Linked DNA regions of Homo sapiens: all the other regions are linked to region 2. Evidence: promoter capture Hi-C in 16 types of primary human blood cells and fetal thymus (Javierre and others, 2016). All regions are on one chromosome and are shown on one strand. The core of a region is centred on a gene start or on the middle of the fragment in contact, and the rest is flanking DNA. Distances in the headings are between cores, read along the strand shown. Region 1 has its middle 6.4 kb from the start of AIM2. Region 2 holds the start of CFAP45 (cilia and flagella associated protein 45). Region 3 overlaps CADM3 (cell adhesion molecule 3).

Region 1 (3,203 bases), core at 214-2,713, 820 kb after region 2:
TCACCACTCACTGCAGCCTCAAACTCCTAGACAATCAAGTGATCCTCCTGCCTCAACCTCCCAAGTAATTGGGACTACAGGCATGTGTCACCAAGCCCTGCTAATTTTTAAAATTCTTTGGAGAGATAAGGTCGCCGTTTTTTGCTCAGGCTGGACTTGAACTCCTGGCTTCAAGCGATTCCCCCGCCTTGGCCTCCCAAAGTGCTAGAATTACAGGCATGAGCCACCGTGCCTGGCCTGGGTTTAATATTTTTAATAAAGTTTCTGTCTCCTTAAACTATCAAGGGAAGCTTATGTTGTTTGCAGTAGGAATCTTGAACAGTTCAAGATTGTTGCTTTCTCTCCAGTAGGAAGTCTAGCTGTGTTTTGAGCTGTGTGAAAGGAGAAGGGAAGGATGTGGTGAGCGAGAACCAGAAATAAGTGGGCTTGGAGGAGGGAAGGCCCTGCCTCTCCAGGGTTTTTTCATTTGATCACATTATATAGAATATATAAATTATGTACAAATATGCCAAAAAGCAGGGCAGAGTGATGGAAAGAGAATTGGAATTTTAGAAAATAACCAGATTTAAATTCTGACTCTACCACATACTAGCAGGGTACCCTTGAGCAAATGACTTAACTTCTTTAAACTCTGTTCCCTCACTTATGGGTTTCAATTAATATATTTACCACATAGAGTGGTAGGGTTACATGAGATAGCCTGTGAAAAAGATCTCTCACTTATTGGCTTACTGGCTGAGTGGTAAAGGTTAGCTCTGTGTGCCAGAGGCAATTAGGGACTCTAGAGAATGCATCAATAATTGGTTATATATAGGTGGTCCATAAATATTGACTATTCAATTCCATTGGCCTAGAATTCCACTTTTTGTATTTCCACATGTTAAAACTCTTATTCCTTCCAATAGGACTAGTCCAAGTGCTATTGTTTTTCTCTAATTGGACCTTTCCAAATTCACTTAGCTGGAAGTAAAGAATTCTATTTCTGAAATATTATTATATTTTATCATAGGTCATATTTGGATTAATGGTGTAGAATGTAGATCCTTAGGATAGTATAGAATATAGATCCTTAGAATAGGAAGATACTTGGGTGAGTATTTAGTAGAGCTAAAATTTAGTAGAGCTAAATGGTATAGAATATAAATCCTTAGAATAGGAAGATACTTCAATGAGCATTTAGTAGAGCTATTTATGTTTTAAATTTATTTTCATTCAGTTAATATATTACTATTGATTGAAATTCAATAATATTACAAGGATGATAATAAAGAGTAGTCCCCTGCCTCATACCTTACCACTCCCAATTCCCACTCACTCAAGGCAACATTTTTTAACCTTTCATAATATTGCTACATTCCTAGTTTTCAATTTTAGCCACTCCATTATCTATTGATTTGCTGCAATAGAAGATACAAATTTACTTTTCTTACACCTCTTTTCTTACATTGTTGGAACCCTACATCTTACAAATACATGTACATCATCTCTCTTTCCACTTTCCCAATATGGTCATTTCACAATTGTTGATTAAATCACTGTTTGGTGTTTTACATTACCATAACTATCTAAATAAAACTAATAGTTAAGCCATGTAGTATGTTTAGATTCCTTCTTTATGCATCTTTATTTTTTTCTGAAGTCAGTGACATATCTTTAATAATTTGTTCCATCTTGACGTGCTTATTGCTAATTCTTTTAAAAGATCCAAAACAGTAAAATTTCTCTCAAAATAAATTCAGGTAATTTCTCTGCAACCACCCACTACCTGCAAAACTTACACATATATCTCACACACTTTTTCCTTAGGAAATATTCTTTTTTGAGCTTTCCGTCCCCCTGTTTTGAACAAGTTTCAGTCTAGCTGTGTACAAGTCAAGGTTCAAGGGCTTCTGGTCACCATTATCCTGGGGTGACATCATCCTTGTGGACTGAATGTTTGTGTTACCCCCAAAATTCATATGTTAAAATCCTAACCCCTAATGTGATGATATTAGGAGGTGGGGCTTTGGGGAGGCGATTAGATCTTGAGGGTATGGGCTTCGTGAATAGGATTAGTGCTCTTATACTACGTGGGATAGTGCCCAGGGAGCACTTTCATCTCTTCTGCCATGTGAGGACACAGCAAAAAGCCATCATCTTGCTAGGTGTGGTGGTGCACACCTGCTGTCCAGGACTTAGGGTCCAGCTTTGGCAACATGGCAAGACCTTGCCTTTAAAAAAAAGAAAGAGAGAAAGAAAAGAAAAAAGATGGCTGTCTTTGAACCAGGAAGCAAGTCTTCACCAGGTACTGAATATGCTGGTACCTTGATCTTGGACTTCCCAGCCTCCAGAATTGTGAGAAATAAATGTGTATATAAATTGTTGTTTATAAGTCACTTAGTCTATAGTATTTTTGTTATAGAGGCCCAAACAAACTGAGACATGGAGATTCCTGAATAATTTTGTTCCTTCCTTACATGTACATGTGATTATTATAATTATCAGCTAGGTATAGAAGACGAGGCTGAAAATTGTTTTCCTCAAATGTTAAAGGAATTGCTCCACTCTCTTCTAGCTTCTAGTGTTGTTGTCAAGAATGCCAATTCTATTCTTATTCCTAATCCTCAGATATGATCTATTCTTTCTCAGGAAGCTTTTAGGATCTTCTCTCTCCTTGGTGTTTTGTAATTTTAAAAGCATGTGGCTAGAAAAAAAGAAAGACCTAAAAATCAATCATCTAAGCTCCCACATTAGGAAACTAGAAGAATAAGAGTAAATTAACTGCAAAGTAAGCATAAGAAAATACAGTTTTAAAAAATTAGAGCTGAAATCAATGAAATTGAAAACAAAAATTAAGAGTGCTTCACTGCCTCCTGTTTTCAGGGAGCTGGAGCTTACTTCCCCAGGGACTTGGCTGGGAAGGGCTTTCTAGCATCTGGGCCACACTGCAAAGGCTGGAGTATTTTAAGAGTTTACGTGTCAGGAAGAGTCTGTTACTTTTAAAGTTAACTTAATTGTCCTTTTAGACTTTTTTTAAAGTTAACTTAATTGTCCTTTTATTTTTGGATCAAGTCCTATGCCAGGGATTTTAACTGCACTTTGAATGTGTTACCAAGGTTATGGTGACCCTTGGATGCTATTTTTGGAAGAAAGACGAATGGTGACAGACTGCAAAATCAATACTCAAGAGCCTGAGGAGCCTCTGGATTTTGACTTCTGCAGCA
Region 2 (3,241 bases), core at 594-3,093:
TACTGGGATTACAGGCATGTAATTGCCTGCTGGGAGGCAAGTCCCTTACACTGCACTCTGTCATTCCCTCCTTCCTGCCATAACTTTTTTAATTTTTCTTTGAGACAGAGTCTTGCATTGTTGCCTGGGCTGGAGTGATCTTGGCTCACTGCAATCTCCCCCTCCTGGCTTCAAGTGATTCTCCTGCCTGAGCCTCCTGAGTAGCTGGGATTACAGGTGCCTGCCACCACCCCCGGCTAATTTTTTGTATTTTTAGTAGAGACGGGGTTTCACTATGTCGGCCAGGCTGGTCTCGAACTCCTGACCTCGTGATCTGCCCACCTTGGCCTCCCAAAGTGCTGGGATTACAGGCATGAGCCACCGCGCCCAGCCCTTTCTGCCTCAACTTTGCACCTTTTCTTCAGAGAGTTACCCTGGGCTGAGAAAAGAATAGATTTTCAATTTGGACAGTTTTTTCTTGGCTTGTTTCCTCTTTGGTTACACGGATAGTAACTATGTCATGCAGATGTGCCTGGGAGAATGGGGTGAATACAGGAAGCACCTTATTCACAGTGGGCCGGTTACTTGTCTTCCCTTCTTTCTGAGCTGCAGGGAACGGGGTTCTAATGCCAAGGCTTAGTAAGGAAGGTTCCCACGAACAAAACAGCCCCTTCTCTCAGTCCCAAGCCTCCCAGGGACTGTGCTCCTCCTCTTCAGGCCTTCCCTTCTCCCTCTGATTAAGCCTTCAACACTTGGTGGGACTGGGCAGGGGACACAATTTTGTACTCTTGATCCCAAAGGAGATAAAGGCTGGGAAATCTAGGGAAGGAATGTGAAGCCTGTTGGAGTAAGTCCTTTTAAAAGCAGCAAGAAGTGACCTTGTCTCCCTCTTTCCATTCCCCCGGGGCTTGTGAATAGCCTTCAGTGCCCAAGTTGGAGTAAGAGCTTCAGAAAGACTGGCTGTGAGGGTTTGGAGAGAGGTTTGAGAAAGCAGCTCAGAGACTCACAGAGTCACACCAAGAGCTTAGCTAATCAGCTAATCAGCACTGGAGGAAGACAAATGTCCTTGGTCTGGTGGGACAGCTTCGTGAGGCTTGGAGCATGCAGCCTACCAAAGTGAGCTCAGTGCCAGCCCTGCAAGTTGGGAGGTAGAGAGGCCAAACCAAATTGGAAAAAATGACAAAACCCCTATGTACTTTCTAGAACAATACATACCAGCTAGGAAGTGTTAAAAGACAAGCTCCCCAAAGTCAGTTCCTTAGCTTTTGACTTATTCTAATGTAGGGCCTCCATTTTTAATAAACTCTCCCAGGTGATTCTTAGCTGCAGATTTGAGGCCCGCAATTTAAGAAACTGCTCTTGAGACTGCATAGACATCCTCAGGGCTGGAAGTTCTTTGTTGACCCGACCAGATTCTCTCCTGCTGTGGAACTGGTTTGTCCTGATCCTGCTGGCTTCTCTGCAGACTACACTCATCAGGGGTTGGCTTGGCGCCTCCTGGGCAATGGGGCAAGAGTAATCATAGCAACCTAGGTGAAGTCCCAGGGGAAAACTGTGACCCTGGGCCAGGCTCCTGGGGCCGCTGACAGTTAGAACCCCCTCGGCCCATAGTAAGTTCTTTAGGTTCGGGTTCTGACCGAAAAGTTTGGCCAAAGCCAAAGTGGAGAGCAGGGCACGCCAGGGCGGGTCAATCCTTCAGAGCCGCGGTTGGGCTGGAGCGTGGAGCTGCAACGGTTGGAGCGACGGGCTCCGGTTCCTAAGCCACCAGCACAAGGCAACTGCCCGCTGGAGGTGGGAGGGGCGGGGCCGGGGGCGGGGCCTGAGCCGAAGAACGCGGGCTAGTGGTTGCCAAGGTAACGCGTCAACACTAGGGCCTTGGCGGCGCCGAGGCGGCAGCAGAAGTCCGGAGTCAGGGCGTGTGGCTGAGGAGATGGTGAGGGAGAACCTCAGATGGGCCCCTTGTGTCCTGAATTGGGTGGGGGCTCTGAGTGGGGAAAGTGGGGGCCTAGGGGAGGTCACAGTTGGGTCTAGGGGTCAGGAGGGCCCAGGAGTAAGGAGAACACCTCTAGAAGAAGCAAGGGAGATCCTGAGGTGGGTTCAAAAGAGGAATTAGGGATAGCATCGATAACGATTGGAAATGTGGAGCGCGCTGAGCGGAGGAGTTGGGGAGAAAGGGATGCCCCAACCCTCTCCCCGTTGCCATTACAGCGGGGCCTCTGTGGACCAAAGATTGTGGATGTGGTGTGGGAAAAAGCACTGGTGGGCCGGGCGCGGTGGCTTACGCCTGTAATCCCAGCACTTTGGGAGGCAGAGGCGGGCGGATCATGAGGTCAGGAGATCGAGACCATCCTGGCTAACACAGTGAAACCCCGCCTCTACTAAAAATACAAAAAATTAGCCGGGCGTGGTGGCGGGCGCCTGTAGTCCCAGCTACTCGGGAGGCTGAGGCAGGAGAATGGCGTGAACCCGGGAGGCGGAGCTTGCAGTGAGCCGAGATCGCGCCACTGCACTCCAGCCTGGGCGACACAGCGAGACTCCGTCTCAAAAAAAAAAAAAAAAAAAAAAAGCACTGGTGAGGAGGCCAGATAATGGGTCGTGGTACCTGTTTTGCCACTAACTAGCAAGGTGACTGTGGGTAAGTCATCTAATGTGCCCGAGCCTCAGGTTTTTCTTCTGTTAGCAGGGCTTTGTATCCCTCAGTAGTTAGTCAATAAATATTTGGCAGTGAATGAATGAATGAATAAATGAGTGAGTGAGTGAGGAGGGTCTCAGGTTTGCAAGGCCCGGGAGAGAGATTGGGACAGGACTGGCAGCCTGGGGTTTGCTGGGATGGGGAGGGCTGTCAGGGTACTGAGGGCTGAGAAGGCCAGCAAAGCCTGGGAGGAACCATGAAGGGGATGCCTGGGCTTGAGTGTGTTGGTCCCAGAGGGGAGGGGAAGGGCAGATGATAAGTGTTGGAGTCTTGGGTTATTGGAACTGACCTAGAATGTCTGGGGCACAACAGGTGGCAAAGGTTGCTACTTGGATGTACTTGTGGACAGACTTCAGGCCCAGGGGCTGCATTGCTTTTCTGGGGCTCAGTGGACCTCAGAAGAATTTTGTTAATTATTAAATAAGTCTCCAACAAAGAGCAGTTCCTGACTTTCGAGGACTCCCTGCAGTGTTGTAATTGGGGTGGGGGAGCGTCCCCTTTCACTTATGTATTCTATTTGATTCAGTGTCCCATCTTCTCTCAGCACCTTACAAACACAGTGGCGTATGT
Region 3 (3,360 bases), core at 774-3,273, 720 kb after region 2:
AAAACAATTATTCTTAACATTTTTTAATATCCAAAGTTTAAGAGAAAATTCAAATGTTTTCCCCTATCCAAACTTTAAGGTATTATGAATACATATATTTTACATAGTTCCTAAAACCTTGCAGCCAACTTGCGTATCTGGTCATAGCCTACTGAATCCTAAGGGTCAGAGGTGGTTATTTCTAAGATCCTTTTGATTTTACAGAAGGATGGAACTAATGCCCTTTCTGACTCTCTATTGTCCAAGTTCAGTAATTCCTTTTTTCTTTCTGTTGCACCTAATTCTGCCCAAAATATTCTCCCCTCTATGATTCTTAGAAGTGTAGATTTTTATAGTTGACAAGATATTAAGTATCATCTGGTCCAATCCTCTTATTTTAAAGATGAGGAACCAAGGCTCAGAGAGGTTTAGGAACTTGAGCATGGTCACACAGGCAGTGAGTGAGACCTGTACTCATTGATAGTTTATAGCAGTCCTTGTGGACTGGCTAATTCAGTGGTTAATTTGACACTAAGTGTCAAATATTTCCGCTGACACCCACTCTTCCTATGCCTCATCTCCTGTGCATGATACTGAGGAACTCCAGGACCGTGGACCTTAAGAGAAGTAAGTCTACTAAATGCCCAGTAGGTTGGAGAAGTTTGGTTATGATGAAGAGGGAGTCCCTGAAGATGGGGCGGATGGCATCTTCTTACACTTCAGGGCTTTACCGGCAGGTTCCAGTTCACACAGAAGAAGAGGCCATTGGGCAGAAGTCACTGCCATGCCCTTTGGAGCTAAAAAGGGTGACTGTGAGGACAGGTGGCATGTGTGTGTGCGTGTGTGTGTGTGTGTGTGTGTGTGTGTGTCTGTCTGTGTGCTTGCTGGCATCTGCAAGGTGAAGAGCTGAGGGAATGCTAACCTGATTGTGAAGCAGGAGACAGGGGCCAGAAGAGAAGAGAAGAAAAAAAGCAGAGGAACATGTCCTATTCTTGAGCTGGAGAGAGAAAAAATCTGGAGGCAGAAGTGGGCTTGTGGTAGGCTGAGGGGGGCCTTCAGAGACTTAGTTAAGATTCCGAGGAGCAGAGACTGGGAAGTGGGTGGCAGGGAAGGAGGTGGGGACAGCTGTTGCTTTGATTTGCTATTGAGTCAGTGTTCTTGGTGCATTAGCACCAGGAGGGAGCCCTGGGCTGGCCCCCAACCAAAACAAGCCCCTCTGTAGCCAATACTGAGTTGTAGCAAGGAGAACTGCAGTTGAGAGACAAAAAGGGAGGGGATTTGATCCCGAAAGAGTCTCTTCCTTGCCTTAGCTGCTTCCTTCTGGGACTGGGCTGTGTGCTCTAGACAAGCATCTAGTGTTCTGCCTGAAGAGGATGAGAGGGTGAGGTGAAACTGAGCACGGGGGAGGGCTCAGTGAGGACCTCTAGAGCACAGATTCTGTGCAGGTACTGACTGTCTTCAGTTGTTTTGGAGTAGGCCCCTGAAGACAGGATGATAACAGCCCTGAGCCATTTTAGGAGTGTCTGTTTATCCCATCTCCTCATTCCCTTCTCACTATGATCAAACACTTTAGACATACGGACAGGTATGACTTGAAATCTGCATTCTAATGCAATACAGTCAGGAGGCCAGACTTTGAACTCTTAGTTGTCCTCTTAAACTAAGTAGAGGGATTTTATACCCTTTCCCCCAATTTATCTTGCTGTTTTCACACATATGTAATAAAACTGGGGGGAAAAAGTTCCTCATCTTAGGAAAGTACTTGAGAAAGGAAACATAACAGAGTCAAACGCAGAATTCAATTTAGCTCATTGGAAGGGTATGGGAAAATAGAGACTGGGAATGGGCCAGAAATCCCAGAAAATCAGAAGTAAAGAATATATTCTCTGGAGATGAAAAATCTCAGCCCAGGTTCCAACAACTTGCTCATACTCTGCACTACCCATCCCAGTGCCCCAATACCTGTCTGAGGGCATGGATGAATTCCCTTTCTCAGTGGGCTCTGTCTTATTCTCCTATGCTCCTTATGTTGCACTTTAGATATTACAGGCTGATGGCTTGGTGTGGTGGGATAACAATGCTGTGGAAAAGTTTAATTTGTTAGAAGTCAAGCAAGAAAGCACTCATCTCTGCTGGTTCTGATTTTCCTGACTTGTTTTTACTGTTTCCCTTCACTGGATGATCAGAGTCTGGGTGTGGATGACAGGTTCAGGGCAATGGTTAGGAGCATTACATGAAGAAAAATGTGTTCTGCTCTACACACCCACACTACTCTAGTTTCACTGATTCCCCCAATCCTAACTGCTATTTAGTCTCCCTGCACTCTTCTCACTTAAAAAAAAAAAAATCTGTATTTTTAAAATTGCGGTACATTGTTCGCATTAGCCTCACTTTGTGAGAATTTCACTCTTCTGTGAAATAGATACATTCTCCCAAGTCCACAGATCTCACAGTCCCCGAAATGGAAAATAATATTGTTCTGACATAAAGAACTCTTATCTCTCTTCTTAAATCTCCATTGAGTGTCTCTTATTTGATGGGGGCAAACACACATTTTTGTTCCCTAAGATAGATGCATATTTTGACATGTGCCCCTCAATACACACACACAAGACACTCTGATTCTCACTAATCATATTTCTGGGGTTTTTTTCTGACATGAACACACAGATTTTATTATGACCCAGATACAGAGCCCTTTTCACATGCCCATATTAATCAGAACCCCTTACTTCCAGAATACCATATGGCTTAAACTCAGAGATTCTCCCCAAAGCAGAATTCAGGCTCTCTCTTCTGCTCAAACTCCCCAGGAGAGGGCCAGAATCCTCTCCTCTCCAGGGTTGAGGCTCAGTCCATCTGTCACTGACATTGGACTCCAGGGCTTGGAAACCAGAAAAGAGTTGGCATTAAGTGGCAATTGAGGATAAATCAAAATATGGGAGGCTCAGGGGCTTAGTGGTGGTAATTTTTATATTTGTGTGAGATTAGCAGATAGAAGTTATGGGAAGAAACATATAATATGTATTTGGAAAGATCTCATCCTTAAGAACTACAGCAAGAACTAGTGAGTGCAATTGTTTCACTGTAATTTTTGCATTTGCTGGGCAAAAAAAAAATGATTAGGAGCAGATGGTAAAACTGGCTTCTCATTTTATAATAACTCAAGAACTCAGCTCCAGGCTCTTCAGACTGACTGACTGCTATGCTAAGTTCCAAGTTACCTCTCATTGATATACTTACTGAAATCAGAATTGGAAGCAAAGCGCCAGGTCATAGAAGGGTAAAAGTAAAATATGAAACAAGAATCTGCATATTTCCAATAAAATCTGTTGTCAGAAGTACTAGTTCTTCATCCTACCTTGCCAGTATTTGGGAGTA

The links. The method cuts DNA at HindIII sites, captures the fragments that hold promoters and counts their contacts. A CHiCAGO score of 5 or more calls a contact.
Region 1: a fragment that was not itself captured here is called in contact with the fragment with the promoter of CFAP45 in region 2 in 1 of 17 cell types (neutrophils); the score reaches 5.3 in neutrophils.
Region 3: a fragment that was not itself captured here is called in contact with the fragment with the promoter of CFAP45 in region 2 in 7 of 17 cell types (M2 macrophages, endothelial precursors, M1 macrophages and 4 more); the score reaches 11.1 in M2 macrophages.

Annotation. Positions count from the first base shown.
Region 1 is chr1:159,081,525-159,084,727 of GRCh38, reverse strand. It overlaps a transcript of AIM2 not described here and the pseudogene RAD1P2. Among named protein-coding and RNA genes, the nearest start is that of AIM2, 6.4 kb to the right of the region's middle. The HindIII fragment of the contact is 2,342 bases long and covers 293-2,634 here.
Region 2 is chr1:159,898,767-159,902,007 of GRCh38, reverse strand. It overlaps CFAP45 (cilia and flagella associated protein 45), which reads left to right and starts at 1,843. Exons shown (of 12, transcript NM_012337.3): 1 at 1,843-1,912. The coding sequence starts at 1,910. It overlaps MIR4259 (microRNA 4259), which reads left to right and starts at 1,929; the gene lies at 1,929-2,029. It overlaps LOC124904435 (a long non-coding RNA gene), which reads right to left and starts at 1,758. Exons shown (of 3, transcript XR_007066679.1): 1 at 1,195-1,758. The HindIII fragment of the contact is 6,665 bases long and covers 1-3,241 here.
Region 3 is chr1:159,179,546-159,182,905 of GRCh38, reverse strand. All of the region lies in intron 1 of CADM3 (cell adhesion molecule 3), which reads right to left. Among named protein-coding and RNA genes, the nearest start is that of CADM3, 9.6 kb to the right of the region's middle. The HindIII fragment of the contact is 4,108 bases long and covers 1-3,360 here.